2 separate regions of the Homo sapiens genome follow, and region 2 is linked to region 1. Evidence: promoter capture Hi-C in 16 types of primary human blood cells and fetal thymus (Javierre and others, 2016). All regions are on one chromosome and are shown on one strand. The core of a region is centred on a gene start or on the middle of the fragment in contact, and the rest is flanking DNA. Distances in the headings are between cores, read along the strand shown.

Evidence for each region. The method cuts DNA at HindIII sites, captures the fragments that hold promoters and counts their contacts. A CHiCAGO score of 5 or more calls a contact.
Region 2: a contact is called between a fragment that was not itself captured here and the fragment with the promoter of MED12 in region 1, in 1 of 17 cell types (neutrophils). The highest score is 5.7, in neutrophils.

Annotation. Positions count from the first base shown.
Region 1 is chrX:71,113,438-71,121,267 of GRCh38, forward strand. MED12 (mediator complex subunit 12) reads left to right here and starts at 5,159. Exons shown (of 45, transcript NM_005120.3): 1 at 5,159-5,416; 2 at 5,936-6,040; 3 at 6,249-6,440; 4 at 6,577-6,733; 5 at 7,534-7,715. The coding sequence starts at 5,318. The HindIII fragment of the contact is 19,646 bases long and covers 1-7,830 here.
Region 2 is chrX:71,029,271-71,037,100 of GRCh38, forward strand. No RefSeq gene overlaps it. Among named protein-coding and RNA genes, the nearest start is that of SNX12, 35 kb to the right of the region's middle. The HindIII fragment of the contact is 2,217 bases long and covers 3,634-5,850 here.

The DNA.
Region 1 (7,830 bases), core at 3,909-6,408:
GAAGAAGTTGTTCCATGCCTCTCTTCTAGCTTCTGGTGGCTGCCGTCGATCCTTGGTGCTCCTTGGCTTGTAGACACATCATTCCAATCTCTGCCTCCATCTTTGCATTACCTCTTCTTCTTCTCTGCATCTCCTTTATCCTTCTCTTCTCTTACAGGGACACCTGTCATTGGATTTATGGCCCACCCTAATCCAGGGTGTTCTCTCCTAGGAGCTTTGCCTTAATTACAGCTGCTAAAAGCCTTTTGTCAAAGAAGGTGACATCCACAGGTTCCAAGTGAACATATCTTTTTGGAGGCCACATTCAACCCACTACAGAGGGCATTCTCCAATTTAAAAGTCTTCAAAAGCTACTCATGGCCTTCAGAATAAAGCCCAAGCTCCAATGATCAATTCCAGCCACACTGGATATGTCATACGCATTTCCTTTCTCTGGAATTAGCCTCTTCCTAACTTTCTGTAGGCTAAAATCCTTCAGAAGGCAAAACCCCATCTCTACAAAAATACAAAAATTAGCCACGTTTGGTAGCACTCACCTGTAGTCCCAGCTACTCAGGTGGCTGAGGCACAAGAATCACTTGAACCCAGGAGGCAGAGGTTGCAGTGAACTGAGATCGCACACTGCACTCCAGCCAGAGTGACAGAGCAAGACTCTGCCTAAAAAATAAAATAAATAAAATAAATAAATCCTTCAGGGCTACATGCCTATTAGAATAGCCAAAATGGGCTGGGCAAGGTGGCTCACACCTTGCCTGAAATCCCAGCACTTTGGGAGGCTGAGGCGAGTGGGTTGCTTGAGCCCAGGAGTTGGAGACCAGCCTGGGCAACACAGCAAGATCCCATCTCTTGTTTAAAAAAAAAAAAAAAAAAAAAAGAGGCCGGGCATGGTGGCTCATGCCTGTAATCCCAGCACTTTGGAAGGCCAAGGTGAGTGGATCATTTGAGGTCAGGAGTTCAAGACCAGCCTGGCCTACATGGTGAAACCCCGTCTCTACTAAAAAATACAAAAATTAGCCAGGCAATAGTGGCGCATTCCTGTAATCCCAGCTACTTGAGAGGCTAAGGCAGGAGAACTGCTTGAGCCTGGGAGGCGGAGGTTGCAGTGAGCTGAGATTGCACCACTGCACTCCAGTCTGGGTGACAGAGTGAGACCCTGTCTCAAAAAAAAAAAAAAAAATTGCCCAAATCCGGAACACGGACTACACCAAATGCTGGCAAGGATGTGGAGCAACAGGAACAACTCTCACTTGTTGCTGGGGGAAATGCAAAAATGGTACGGTACAGCCACTGGGGAAGACGGTTTGGCAGTTTCCTATAAAACTAAACATACTCTTTCAGCAATCATGTTCCTTGGTATTAACAAAGGAGTGGAGGCCGGGCGCGGTGGCTCACGCCTGTAATCCCAGCACTTTGGGAGGCTGAGACGGGCGGATCACGAGGTCAGGAGATCGAGACCATCCTGGCTAACACGGTGAAACCCCGTCTCTACTAAAAATACAAAAATTAGCCGGGCATGGTGGCGCGTGCCTGTAGTCCCAGCTACACAGGAGGCTGAGGCAGGAGAATGGCGTGAACCCGGGAGGTGGAGCTTGCAGTGAGTCGAGATCGCGCCACTGCACTCCAGCCTGGGCGACAGAGCGAAACTTCGTCTCAAAAAAAAAAAAAAAAAAAAAAAAAACAAAGGAGTGGAAGACTTGTGTTCACATAAAAACCTGCAGACGGATGTTTATAGCAGTTTCATTCATAATTGCCCAAACTTGGAAGCAACGAAGGTGTCTTTCAGTAGGTTTATGGATAAACTGTGGTACATCCTGAAAGTGAAATATTATTCGGTGCAAAAAGAAATGAGCTATTAAGGCCGTGAAGAGACATGGGAGAAAACTTAAATACATATGACTAAGTGAAAGAAGCCATGCAGAAAAGGCCACCTACTATAGGATTCCAACTATATGACATTCTGGAAAGGGCGAAACTATGGAGACAGTAAAAAGATCAACGGTTGCCAGGGGTTGTCGGAGAGGGAAGGATGAATAGGTGGAGCAGAAAAAGTTTTTAGGTCAGTGAAAATATTCTGTAAGATACTACAATGGTGGACACATGTTATTCTTTGTCCAAACTCACAGACTGTATAAAATAACATCAAGAGTGAACTTTAACGTAAACCATGAACTTTGGGTAATGATGTTCAAGGTAGGTCCATCAACTCTAACGAATATACCATTCTGGTGGGTTTGTTGTTGTTGTTGTTGTTGTTGTTGTTGTTTTGTTTTGTTTTGTTTTGTTTTGAGACAGAGTTTCACTCTGTTGCCCAGGCTGAAGTGCAGTGGGGTCATCATGGCTTACTGCAGCGTCCACCTCCTGAGATCGAGTGATTCTCTCCCCTCGGCCTCCAGAGTAGCTGGGACTACAGGCGCCCGCCCCTAAACCCTGCTAATGTTTTATTTTGCTTTTGGAGAGATAGAGGTTCTACCATGTTGCCCAGGCTGGTCTAGAACTCCTGGGCTCAAGCAATCCACCCATCTCGGCCTCCCAAAGTGGTGGGATTACAGGCATGAGCCACCATGCCTGGCCCACTCTGGTGGGGGATGTCAATGGGGGAGTTTATCTATGTGTGAGGGCAGACAGTATATGGGAATTCTCCATACCTTCCTCTCAATTTTGCTGTGAATCTAAAACTGCTCTAAAAAATTCTTTTATGCTGGGTGCTGTGGCTCATGCCTGTAATCCCAGCACTTTCAGAGGCTGAGGTGGGTGGATCGCTAGAGACCAGGAGTTTAAGTCCAGCCTGGGCAACATAGCAAAACCCTGTCTCCACCAAAAAAAAAAAAAAAAAAAAAAAGCAAAAATTAACCGGGTGTGGTGGCCAGCGCCTGTGATCCTAGATACTTGGGAGGCTGAGGTGGGAGGTTTGCTTGAGCCCAGGAGGTAGAGGTTGCAGTGAAGTGAGATTGCACCACTGCAGTCTAGCCTGGGCCACTGAGTGAGACCTTGTCAAAAAAAAAAAAAAAAGAAAAAAAAAGAAAGAAAAGAAAAATTATCTTTTTAAAAATATCCTTCAGGTTGGTGGCTCACGCCTGTAATCCCAACACTTTGAGAGGTGGAGGCAGGTGGATCACCTGAGGTCGGGAGTTCGAGACCAGCCTGACCAACATAGAGAAACCCCGTCTCTACTAAAAATACAACAACAAAAAAATATTTAGCTGGGCATGGTGGTGCATGCCTGTAATCCCAGCTACTCGGGAGGCTGAGGCAGGAGAATCGCTTGAACCAGGGAGGCAGAGGTTGCAGTAAGCCGAGATTGCGCCATTGCACTCCAGCCTGGGCAACAAGAGCGAAACTCAGTCTCAAAATAAATAAATAAATAAATAAATAAATAAATAAATAAATAAAATATCGTTCAGGCTGAGCGTGGTGGCTCACGCCTGTAATCCCAGCACTTTGGGAGGCCGAGGTGGGCGGATCACTTGAGGTCACGAGTTTGACACCAGCCTGGCCAACATGGAGAAACCCCGTCTCTACTAAAAATACAGAAATTAGCTAGGCATGATGGCGCAAGCCTGTAATCCCAGCTACTGGGGAGGCTGAGGCAAGAGAATCACTTGAACCTGGGAGGCGGAGGTTGCAGTGAACCGAGATCACGCCACTGCACTCCAGCCTGGGCAACAAGAGTGAGACTCCGTCTCAAAACAATAAATAAAATAAAAAATAAAATAAAATAAAAATATCCTTCAGAGTTAGTTCAAATGTTACCTCAGCCTCCTGAGCAGCTGGCATTACAGGCGCCTGCCACCACACAAGCTAATTTTTGTATTTTTAGTAGAGATGGGATTTCACCACGTTGGCCAGGCTGGTCTTGAACTCCTGACCTCAGGTGATTCCCTGCCTTGGCCTCCCAAAGTGCTGGGATTACGGACGTGAGCCACCACTCCCCGCCTTGAATTACTTCTTCTTTCCATTGTGATTCAATAGCATTTTGTTATTTTTGTTACTGGTGTTATTTTTGTTTATTGTTATTTGTTACTTTTGTTACAGCACACTGGCTGTCTTTTCTCTAAAAGGCAATACAAGGCCGGCACAGTGGCGCACGCCTGTAGTCCAGGCTACTGGGAGGCTGAGGCGGGAGGATCGCTGGAGTCCAGAAGGTTGATGCTGCAGTGAGCCGTGATAGCGCCACTGCACTCCAGCCTAGGCGACAGAGGGAGAACCTGCCTCAAAATAAACAAATAGCAATACGACAATAGGATATTGGCTCTGGAATTCAGAATCTTAGTGCCAGCTCTGTTACTCAGTAGCTGTATAATATTGGATAAGTGAATTTTCACACTTTGAAAACCAGCTTCCTCCATCCGCAAAATCGAGCCAATAATAATCCCTAACTCATGAGGCTGTGAGCAGATTAAAGGAGATAGTGTCTGAAAAGCATCTGACACAATAGGTGCCTCTTTAGCTAGACCAAGGGTTCTTAACCTGGAGTTCATGGACCCTTAGGGGATACATGGATGAACTTCAGGGGATCTAAGAATCTAAAGCAACATTTTGCATGTCAATATATGCATATTATTATTATTATTATTATTATTTCTGGGAAGAAGGTCCATAGCTTTCATCAGCACCTTTAAGGGTTTGTGAATCAAAAACGTTAGTATGCGGTACCCTTGGGCAGAAAAACAAACAAGAAAAGGTTAGACAACTCGATGGTAGACCTTGAGGGATTAGAGCCAGCCTTTCAGGGTTTAATAGGTTCTTTCTCATGCATACATAGTTTCTAATGTTCACAATAGCCCCTTGAAGGAGGTGTTAGCGCACCTATTTTTCAGATGCCGGAACTAAGAAACGAACTGATCTGTAATAGACGGAGTTCCTAACCAATGCAAATATTATTGAAGACTTTTCTAGGCCAAAACCGAGCTAGGCTATGGGAACCGAAGTCCAGTCAGAACTCAGCACCACAGAGGCCTCCTTCTTCCCTGGTTTGCATCCCCAGCTCATTCTGCGCCTCCGGAACGTTTCATAGATTTTTGCTGAGTGAAATCGACTTGCTGCCGCCACCGCCGAAAAACTCCCGGGGCACAGAGCTCCGCCCCCACCGGGCCAGGCCCCACCTCCTCTGCAGTCGGTATTGTCCGATGGTTCCCGGCGTACCTCGGCTTCCCTCGGTAGTTTCCGGCAATGGTCGAGAGTTTCTAACGTGCCCCCTTGTTGTCTCTCGGCCGCCGTCCTCTCAACCACCGCCCCCCTTTTCGGCTCCCTCTCCCCCTTCCCGTTCCCCCAGTCAGCCTGGCCCTGCTGGTGCCTCCGGCGCTACGGGCTGGGCAAGATGGCGGCCTTCGGGATCTTGAGCTACGAACACCGGCCCCTGAAGCGGCCGCGGCTGGGGCCTCCCGATGTTTACCCTCAGGACCCCAAACAGAAGGAGGTGCGTTCGAAAATCGGGGCTCTGGAGGGGCCGGGGGCACGCGGTCAGCCTAGGAGGAGGCACTGACGGCTGGGAATGGGGGGCGGGGCGGTTCGGTGAGAGCAAAAGTCCCGAAAGGGGGAAGAGTAAAGTGGGCTGGCGTGGGAGGGCAGGACGGGGGGCGGTGGGGGGTTCCAAGGTATGAATAGGGGGTGGTGTAGGGGCCGCACCAGAGGCGCCCTCCTCCACACACACCTCAGAAAGTTGTCTGAGACAGCTTGGTGGGGTACGGCTGCTCGGCTGTTCGCAAGAGAAGAGTGATGTTTGAGGGCGCGCTGGGTGGCTGGGAATCCTAGTGACCATGGGAGTGAGGGTGGGGTCCAAGTGAACGTAAGGGCCCAGCTTTAAGTAACGATCTGTTCTACACGGAACCCTCCTCCTGCCCTTTCACCTTGTTCCTTCTTTTCTCCTGCCCTACTCTCCCACCCCTTCCCCCTTCCCCTAAGGAAAAAACAACTAAACGCCGCTTTCCTGCCTCAGGATGAACTGACGGCCTTGAATGTAAAACAAGGTTTCAATAACCAGCCTGCTGTCTCTGGGGATGAGCATGGCAGTGCCAAGAACGTCAGCTTCAATCCTGCCAAGGTGAGACAACTCTGCCAGGCTGAAGGAAAAGGCTGGAAGAATCTAAGAAGGAGCAAAGGCCCTGGGTTGGGAAGACTTATAGGGACAACCTAAGTGGCTGAGTTTGCCTTCATGACCTAATACTATCTCATTGGCATTTGCCCAGCAAAAGGCAGGACCACCTGTCTGCCCCTTCTTCCCACCCTGAGGTACACTTTTCTTCCCTCAGATCAGTTCCAACTTCAGCAGCATTATTGCAGAGAAATTACGTTGTAATACCCTTCCTGACACTGGTCGCAGGAAGCCCCAAGTGAACCAGAAGGATAACTTCTGGCTGGTGACTGCACGATCCCAGAGTGCCATTAACACTTGGTTCACTGACTTGGCTGGCACCAAGCCACTCACGCAACTAGCCAAAAAGGTAAGGTACTGTTTCCTGTCCTTCAGGCCAAGGAGGGAGCATGGGGTACCAAGTACCCTCCTATTCCCATATTAAGCTACATGGGTGTCAGCTCATGGGGATAATAGAGACCTCACTATTTGCAATGTCCATCCAGGTCCCCATTTTCAGTAAGAAGGAAGAGGTGTTTGGGTACTTAGCCAAATACACAGTGCCTGTGATGCGGGCTGCCTGGCTCATTAAGATGACCTGTGCCTACTATGCAGCAATCTCTGAGACCAAGGTTAAGAAGAGACATGTTGACCCTTTCATGGGTGAGTAACTCCTAACACCAGGTGTACTGCTGATGGCTTCAAGGAGTGATAGAGACACCCTTGGAACCATCCTCCTTCTTAATCTAGATTCCTTGTTTCTGCTTGTTTCTTGCATTTGTTTGATCAGTAAACACTGAGAAATTTGAGTGTCTACTGTGCGCATATACTGGGCTACAAAGATGTCCGGTGCATAATCTCTGCCCCTAGGATACTAGTAGTCTAACAGGGCTGCTAAGGTATATGTACAAATAACATAATTAAATATAGAAAGTGGTGAATGTCAAGCTAGGAGCAGAAGGTTCTTTGAGTGGACAAAAGATTACTTTCTTATGGGGGTACCCGGAAAGGCTTTAGGAAGGTGGGATTTGACTAGAGACTAAAAGGATGAACTGAATTTACAAATATGGTGATTAGGGGTGGGGGTAAGGTATTCTAAGTAGAAGGATTTTTTTTTTTTTGAGACAGAGCAAGACTCTGTCACCCAGGCTAGAGTGCAGTGGCAGGATCTTGGCTTACTGCAACCTCCACCTCCCGGGTTAAAGTGATTCTCCTGTCTCAGCCTCCCGAGTAGCTGGGATTACAGGCGCCCACCACTGCGCCCGGCTAATTTTTGTATTTTTCTAGAGACGGGGTTTCACCATCTTGGCCAGGCTGGTCTCGAACTCCTGACCTCGTGATCCACCTGCCTCAGCCTCCCAAAGTGCTGGGATTACAGGCATGAGCCACCGCACCCAGCCAGTAGAAGGATATTCTAAGCAGAAGGATAGTATCAAATAGCCCTTTTTCCCTCTTTCCTCCAGAATGGACTCAGATCATCACCAAGTACTTATGGGAGCAGTTACAGAAGATGGCTGAATACTACCGGCCAGGGCCTGCAGGAAGTGGGGGCTGTGGTTCCACGATAGGGCCCTTGCCCCATGATGTAGAGGTGGCAATCCGGCAGTGGGATTACACCGAGAAGCTGGCCATGTTCATGTTTCAGGTAGAGAGTAGGGCATGCTGTGTGGGGCATTGGGTTGAGCTTGAACTTGTACTCTGCCAGTAGAGAACAGAATCTGCCTGCCACCTTGCCCCAGTTGTGGTTCTCTTCATCTTTT
Region 2 (7,830 bases), core at 3,492-5,991, 85 kb before region 1:
AAAATAGAAAAAAATCAGGCAGGTATGGTGGTGCTCACCTGTGGTCCCAGCTATTCGGGAGGCTGAGGTGGGAGGATCACTTGAGCCTGGGAAGTGGAGGTTGCAGTGAGCCAAGATTGTGCCACAGCACTCCAGCCTGGGTGACAGAGTGAGACCCTGTCTCAACAAAAAGAAAAAAAGAAAAAAAAAGTCTTTGAATCCTGTATCCCCCACTGTACATACAGAAGTCAGAGAGCTGTTTGAGATCAGGAGGCTTAGTTGCTGACTATACAAGAACAACCTCCTAGGTAGGCAATATCTTTGTACAAGGTAGTTACTCCAGTGAGGCAGGCAGACAAATTCAGCAGACCAGTCTATATATTAAAAGGTTGATTTGTGAGCACATTTTTTTTTAAAAAGGGAAAAAATGTTTTTTAAAAAAAACAGAAAACAAACAAAAATAAATAAAACAAACGGAGTTTATATCCACAAAGGATATATTAACATCAGATTATATAAGCCTGATAAACTATCTTTCTTGACTCAAGATATTTTTATAAAAAGCCTGACTAACCAGAATTGGGGACAAGAAGTTTAGTGAGAAGAAACTTACTCTTAGCTGTAATGTTTAAATATTTTTATAAGGAGAATGTACTCACATGTTACCTATGTAATTAAACAACAACCGGAAAAAAAAAACCGAAAAGGCTAAAGAAATAAAATGTTATTCTTCCCCTTTCCAGGCTCCTTGCAGATAACCAGGCTTTACCCTTCTATTCATAGATCACTATTTCAGATGGCCAATTTATAAGGCAGTTGAGTAAGTTAGGATTTCTTTACATTATTACATTTCATTCTCTTTTTCCTGAGGCCATATACTCTGGTCTTTGATGGAAACCTAAAAAACATTCCAGTCTCATTAAAAGAAAACCTAGCTCTCTCAGGGTAGATTAATTCTGCAGATGTATGCCTTCAGATAGCTGTTTTTATCCATTTTGTTTCATTTTACTTCATTTTCAGACAGTGACCTTTTCCCATCCTTACTTGCAAATTCTGAGAGCCCCTTTCTATAAGGCACCTTTCCTCCTTTTTAAATAATGTGCAGGAGCACTTGTTGACAGATAGAGCATTAAAAGAAACGGACACATTAATAGGTTTTATCAGTAAGATTTTAGAAGTCTGAACTAGATAACCTCTGTTCCTTACATTTGATGAAGATTCTGATTAAGGTAGAATAGCCTTGGCTGCCTCAAACATTTCTCTTTGCCTCTGGCACCAAGGAGGACACAGACCAAGCCACACCAGGACGATCTCCACTCAAGAATAGCACGTTTGGACTGTGTGAAAGGTCCCCATTTTACAATAAACAAGCTTCCCTATAACTTTGAAACACTAATCCCAGGAAAACACTAGAAATTGGTTCAAGGTAGTATTGTGACAGGTCTGTTGGGTCAGATCCTATATACAACAGCAGGTGAAAGTAGATGAACAGTAGCAATCCCTTATTTGATGGATTGATTTCAACATAGGAAAGGTGTCTAGTCAGGCTGCAAATATTTGAGCTCCGCTCTGCCTTTTTTGATATTTTAAGATAGTCATTTGTATGAAGACACTTAGTGGCATACTAATCAAATTTGCAGATGATAAACTGGAAAAGAAGCTAGTACAACTGGATGACATTCAGGAGTCAAAAGAAGTTTGACAAGCAGGAATGATAAGCTAAATTTCTTAGGCTGAAAAGACAGAGATCAAATTAAAGCCTCATACTAGGTCCTAAAACATAAGCATTTAAGTACCAAATGGATAAATATAGTTGAGTTTTTAGTCTTAGTGATTTCAACTAACTATAGGCTCAACATAATTCAACAGAGTGATCAATGTGGCTGTCAAAAAAAAAAAAAACAAGAAAAGAAAAGAAAAAAAAGCTAACAATTTTGGCCTGCATGAGTAGTAGCATAGGGTCTAGAACAAAGAAAATCACTAACCCACTCTTCTGTACTGATCAGAACATGTACCTGAAATAGTACATTTCATTCTAGATGCCAATCTTTAAAGAGAGATATTCATGAGCTGAAGTATGAACAGAACAGAATAACCAGAATGATGAGGAGATCTTCAAACTCTGCCATGAGAGTAATGGCAGTAAAGGAACTGCAGATGTTTAGCACAGAGAAGACAAGACTTAGTAGAGGAAACCAATGGCCACTGTTTTCAAATATAAAGGGTTGCCCAATAATGAAGGAGACTGTCTCTCGAGCAATTTCCTCAAATAATGAAGTATTCAAGCACAGATCTAAACTCACTTGGTGGAGATATTGGAAGGGATTCAAAAGCCTGGGATAAATCCTAGGTCTCTCAGCTAAAGGAGCCCCAAAGTGATGACACCTCAGTAGCAATAAGTATACCCCAGCACAGAGATCCTGGTTGCTAAATATCATTCCCCACTTAAGGGAGCCAGGCTTCCTTGGAGAAATAGCTGATTCCAAGGTTAGGGCCAGGAAAATACATGATAAGCCTGAAATATTCCTGTTGTCCCAGAAAGTAAGAAAGTGCCAAAGAATGATGGAGGCATGTCAATGGACACAGAAACCAGCTTGAAGAAGCTCCCACTGACCAAATCTGGGCCAATTAGAGCATCAAAATAAACAGTAAAACGTTATAACTCATGTAATAAGTAAGAATCCATGAGTCCATACTGATAATCAATTAATTAATCAATACATAGGGTAAAAGGAAAGCTCTTCTTTACAATTGAATGCCAGCAAATAAGTGTAGAACTAATGATGTATTTAGAAAATCACCATTTTTGAAATATAATAGTAATAACTGATTCAGGCAATAATCAATGAATGTTAAAATCTATTGGCTGAGACTTTGATATGGAATAGGACATTTTATACAGTCTCAAAGTGTCCCCCCACAAATTGCATATTTATTACAAAGGTAAAAATGGTAACTTTAGAGTGGAGAAACCTGGCAGACCCTACTTTAACCAAGTAGTCAAAGTTAATATCACCAATAATGGGGCAAAGTGATATCATGTACCTCCTGTTGCCAATGCACTGAGAACACATCACTTCTGTGATATTCCTACAAAAAGAAGCATAATCTGAATCTAATCATGAGGAAACATTAGACAAACCCAAACTAAGGAACATTATACAAAATATCTGGCCTGTACTCTTCAAAAGTGTCAATGTCAGGAAAGACAAAGAAAAGCTGAGAAACTACTCCAAATTAAAGGCAATTAAAGTGACATGACAACTAAATTCAATGTATAATCCTGGACTGTATTCTGGACTGGGGAAAAATGCTATAAAGGAAATTATTAGGACAAGAGGTAAAAGCTGAATGTGGACAGCAGTGGTATTACATCAATGTTAATTTTCCTGATTTTGATCATTATGCTGTGGTTTTGTAAGAGGATGTCCCTGTTCTCAGGAAAGATATGCTGAAGTATTTAGGAGTATAGGGGCCTTATGTCTCCAGGTTATTCTGATTCAGAGAAAAAATAGATAAAGATAGAGATAGAATGATAAAGCAAATGTGGCAACATGTTAAAAATATATGAATCTGGGTTAAGGGTAAGTGGAAGTTCTTTGTAATATTACTGTAACTTTTCTTTAAGTTTGAAATAATTTTGAAGTTTTTAAAAGCTTTGAATGATTAAAAAAGACAGAAAACTATACTAAATGTTCTCTAAAGTTCTAACAAGGCCATCAGCAAGAGATAAATTCTAAAACTAAGGCTTTTAGCAAAGGAGACAATAATATTAAATAATTTTTAAGACTTAGAAAAGCTACTAACAGATTAAAAATAGGCTTTCTGTAATAGAAATAACATGGTATTTTGTGTCACATAGACCAGGATTCAAATCCTTGCTCTATCATTTATTATTTGTATGATCTTGAACCAAGTCATTTAGCTTTTCTCAGCCTTAATCTCTTTATGTTGTAAAGGCAATACTACCTACTTCTCTAGTTACACACATATATATTTCCCTAACATACAAAAAACTTTTACAAATCATTGCATATCAACATGAAAAAGATGAACACCCCAATAGACAAATGCACAAAGAACAGTCAATTCATGATAAATTATATACAAATAGTCAATAAATACAGTATGTGCAAACCTCACCAGTAATAAAAGAAATGCCAATAAAACTGAAATATAGGTTTGGCACGGTGGCTCAGGCCTGTAATTCCAGCATTTTGGGAGGCCGAGATGGGCAGATCACCTAAGGTCAGGAGTTTGAGACCAGCCTGGCCAACATGGCAAAACCCCATCTCTACTAAAAATATAAAAATTAGCTGGGCGTGGTGGCCTGCACCTGTAATCCCAGCTACTCAGTAGGCTGAGGCAGGAGAATCACTTGAACACAGGAGGCAGAGATTGCAGTGAGCCAAGATCGCACCACTGCACTCCAGCCTGGGCCACCACAGAGTGAGACTCCATCAAAAAAAAAAAAAGCCCACAAAAAAACTGATATATAATTTTTCACCTATTAGGATTGGCACAGAATAAAAAGACATAAAACCCAGTGTTGATGAGAGTATAAGAAAACAGACCAAGCACAGTGGCTCACACCTGTAATCCCAGCACTTTGGGAGGCCAAGGCAGGTGGATCACCTGAGGTCAGGAGTTCGAGGCCAGCCTGGCCAACATGGTGAAACCCCGTCTCTACTAAAAATACAAAAAATTACCTGGGCGTGGTGGCAGGCGCCTGTAATCCCAGCTACTCTGGAGGCTGAGGCAGCAGAATCGCTTGAAGTGGGGAGGCGGGGGTTGCAGTGAGCTGAGATCATGCCATTGCACTCCAGCGTGGGGGACAAGTGCAAAACTCCATCTCAAAAAAAAAAAAGGAAGGAAGGAAGGAAGGAAGAAAGAAAGAAAGGAAGGAAGGAAAGAAAAGAAAAGAAAATGTAGTATTGGTGGTAAGGTAAACTGATACAACCTTTCTAGAAGGCATTTGATAATATTCAGCAAAATCCATCCAGGAACTTCTACATTGAAAACTACATAACATTGCTAAGAGGAATTTTACAAGACTGAAATAAATAGGCTGGGCATGGTGGCTCATGCCTGTAATCCCAGCACTTTGGGAGGTCGAGGCAGGCAGATCACTTGAGCCCAGGAGTTCAAGACCAGCCTGGGCAACACAGTGAAACCCCATCTCTACCAAAAAAACTTGTTCAGGCATGGTGGCACACACCTGTGGTCCCAGCTACTTGGGAGGCTGAAGTGGGAGGATCGCTTGAGCCCGGGTGGTTGAGGCTGCAGTGAGCCATAGTTATGCCACTGCACTCCAGCCTGGGTGACAGAGTGAAACTCCATCTTTAAAAAACAAATAAAAACCTGAAATAAATAGATATACCATGATCATGAGTTAGAAGACACAATATTGTTAAGATGTAAATCCTCCCAGAATTCTTCTATAGATTCAATACAAGAGCAGTCATAATACTACCAGGTTTTTTAAAGAGAAATGGACAAACTGATTCTAAAATGTATATGGAAATGGAAAGGATCTAAAATATCCAAAACGATCTTGAAAAACAACAGCAAAGTTGGAAGACCTATATTCCTGACATTAAGACTTACTATAAAACTACAGTACTTAATAGATAAATAGATCAATGGCACAAAATACAGAGCCCAGAAATAAACTTGCACATATAAAGTCATTGATTTTTGATCAAGCAATGTTGAATTGGGGAAAGGAAAGTCTTTTCAACAAATGGTGCTAGAATAACTGGATATTCATTTGGGAAAAATAAACCTCAACCCCAACCCCACATCACACCCAAAAACCAACTGAAGATGGATCATGACACTAAACATATAATATAAATGCTAAAACTCTAAAGCTTCTAGAAGAAAATCCAGAAGAGAATCTTTGGGACTTAGGGATAAACAAAGATCTTTTAGAACACAGAAAGCTATAGTCATAAAAGAAAAAAAAATGATAAATTAGAATTCACTGAATTTTAAAATCTTCTCATGAAAAACTACTATTAAGAAAATGAATAGGCAAGCACAGACTAAGAGAAAATACTTGAAAAACATATATCTGACAAAGGACTTGTAAGCAGAATATATAAAGAACTCTTACAAATCAATCATTTAAAAATGGATTTAATCCAACTTTAAAATGGACAAAAGATTTGAATAGATATTTAGCAAAGATATTTGAATGGTCAATAAGCACATGAAAAAGTGCTTGACATCATTAATACTCAGGGAAATGCATATTAAAACTACAATGAGCCAGGCACAGTGGCTCACACCTGTAATCTGAGCATTTTGGGAGGCCGAGGCAGGTGGATCACTTGAGCCCAAGAGTTCCAGACCAGCCTGGGCAACATGGTGAAGCCCTGCCTCTACAAAAAACAAAGCAAAAATTAGCTGGGTGTGGTGGCATGGCCTGTAGTCCCAGCTATTTGTACTACTGCACTCCAGCCTGGGATCCTATCTTTGGAAAAAAAAAAAAAAAAAACTACAATGAGATACTACTACACACCCACCAGAATGGCTAAAATGTTAAAAGACTGACCATACCAAGTGTTCGAGAGAATGAAAAACTACTAGAATTCTCATATATTGCTAGTGGGAATAAAAAATGGTACAACCTGTTTAGAGAATTACTTAGAAGTTTCTTATAAATTTAAATACACATCTATCCTATAGTCTAGCAATTCCACTTCTAGGTATTTACAAAAAAAAAAAAAAAAAGGAAGCATATGTTTATAAAAAGACTTGTACCAGAATGTTTACTTCAGCTTTATTCATAGTAGCCAAAAACTGTAAATAATCCAAATGTCCATCAATAATAGAATGGATACGCTGGTTACGGCGGCTCATGCCTGTAATCCCAGCACTTTGGGAGGCCAAGGCAGGACCTAAGGTCAGGAGTTTGAGACCAGCCTGGCCAACATGGTGAAACCCCATCTCTACTAAAAAGTACAAAATTAGCTGGGTGTGGTAGCACATACCTGTAGTCCCAGCTACTCAGGAGGCTGAGACAGGAGAATCGTTTGAATCTGGGAGGTGGAGGCTACAGTGAGCCGAGATCATGCCACTGCACTCCAGCCTGGGCAAGACACAGCAAGACTCTGTCTCAAAAAAAAAAAAAAAAAAAAAAAAAAAAGAACAGAATGGATAAACTAGCATAGTCATACAATAGAATGCTACTCAGCACTGAAAAGGAACAAACTTGATACACACAATAACATGGATAAATCTCAAAAACATTATGCTGAGCAAGGCCAGGTACAGTGGCTCATGCCTGTAATCCCAGCACTTTGGGAGGCCAAGGCAGGTGGATCATTTGAAGCCAGGAGTTCAAGACCAGCCTGACCAACATGGCAAAATCCCATCTCTACTAAAAATACAAAAATTAGCTGAGCATGGTGGCACATCCCTTTAATCCCAACTACTTGGGAGGCTGAGGCACAAGAATTGCTTGAACCTGGGAAGCAGAGGTTGCAGTGAGCTGAGATCGTGCCACTGCATTCCAGCCTGGGTGATGTAATGAGAGTCTGTCTCGAAAATAAATAAAATAAAATAATATTACATTCTCACAATGAAATGCTATACAGCCTTTTTTTATTTTTTAAGAAATGGGATCTCACTACGTTGTCCAGGCTATTCACAGACATGACCATAGGGCACTACAGCCTTGAACTCCTGGACTCAAGCGATCTTTCCACCTCAGCCTCCCAAAGAGCTGAGACTACAGGCACCATACCACTGTGCCCACCTTACAAAGCCACTTAAAACAATAGTGTAATCTATATTCATTGACATAGAAAAATGTCCAAAACGTACTGTTGAGTGAAAAAAAGG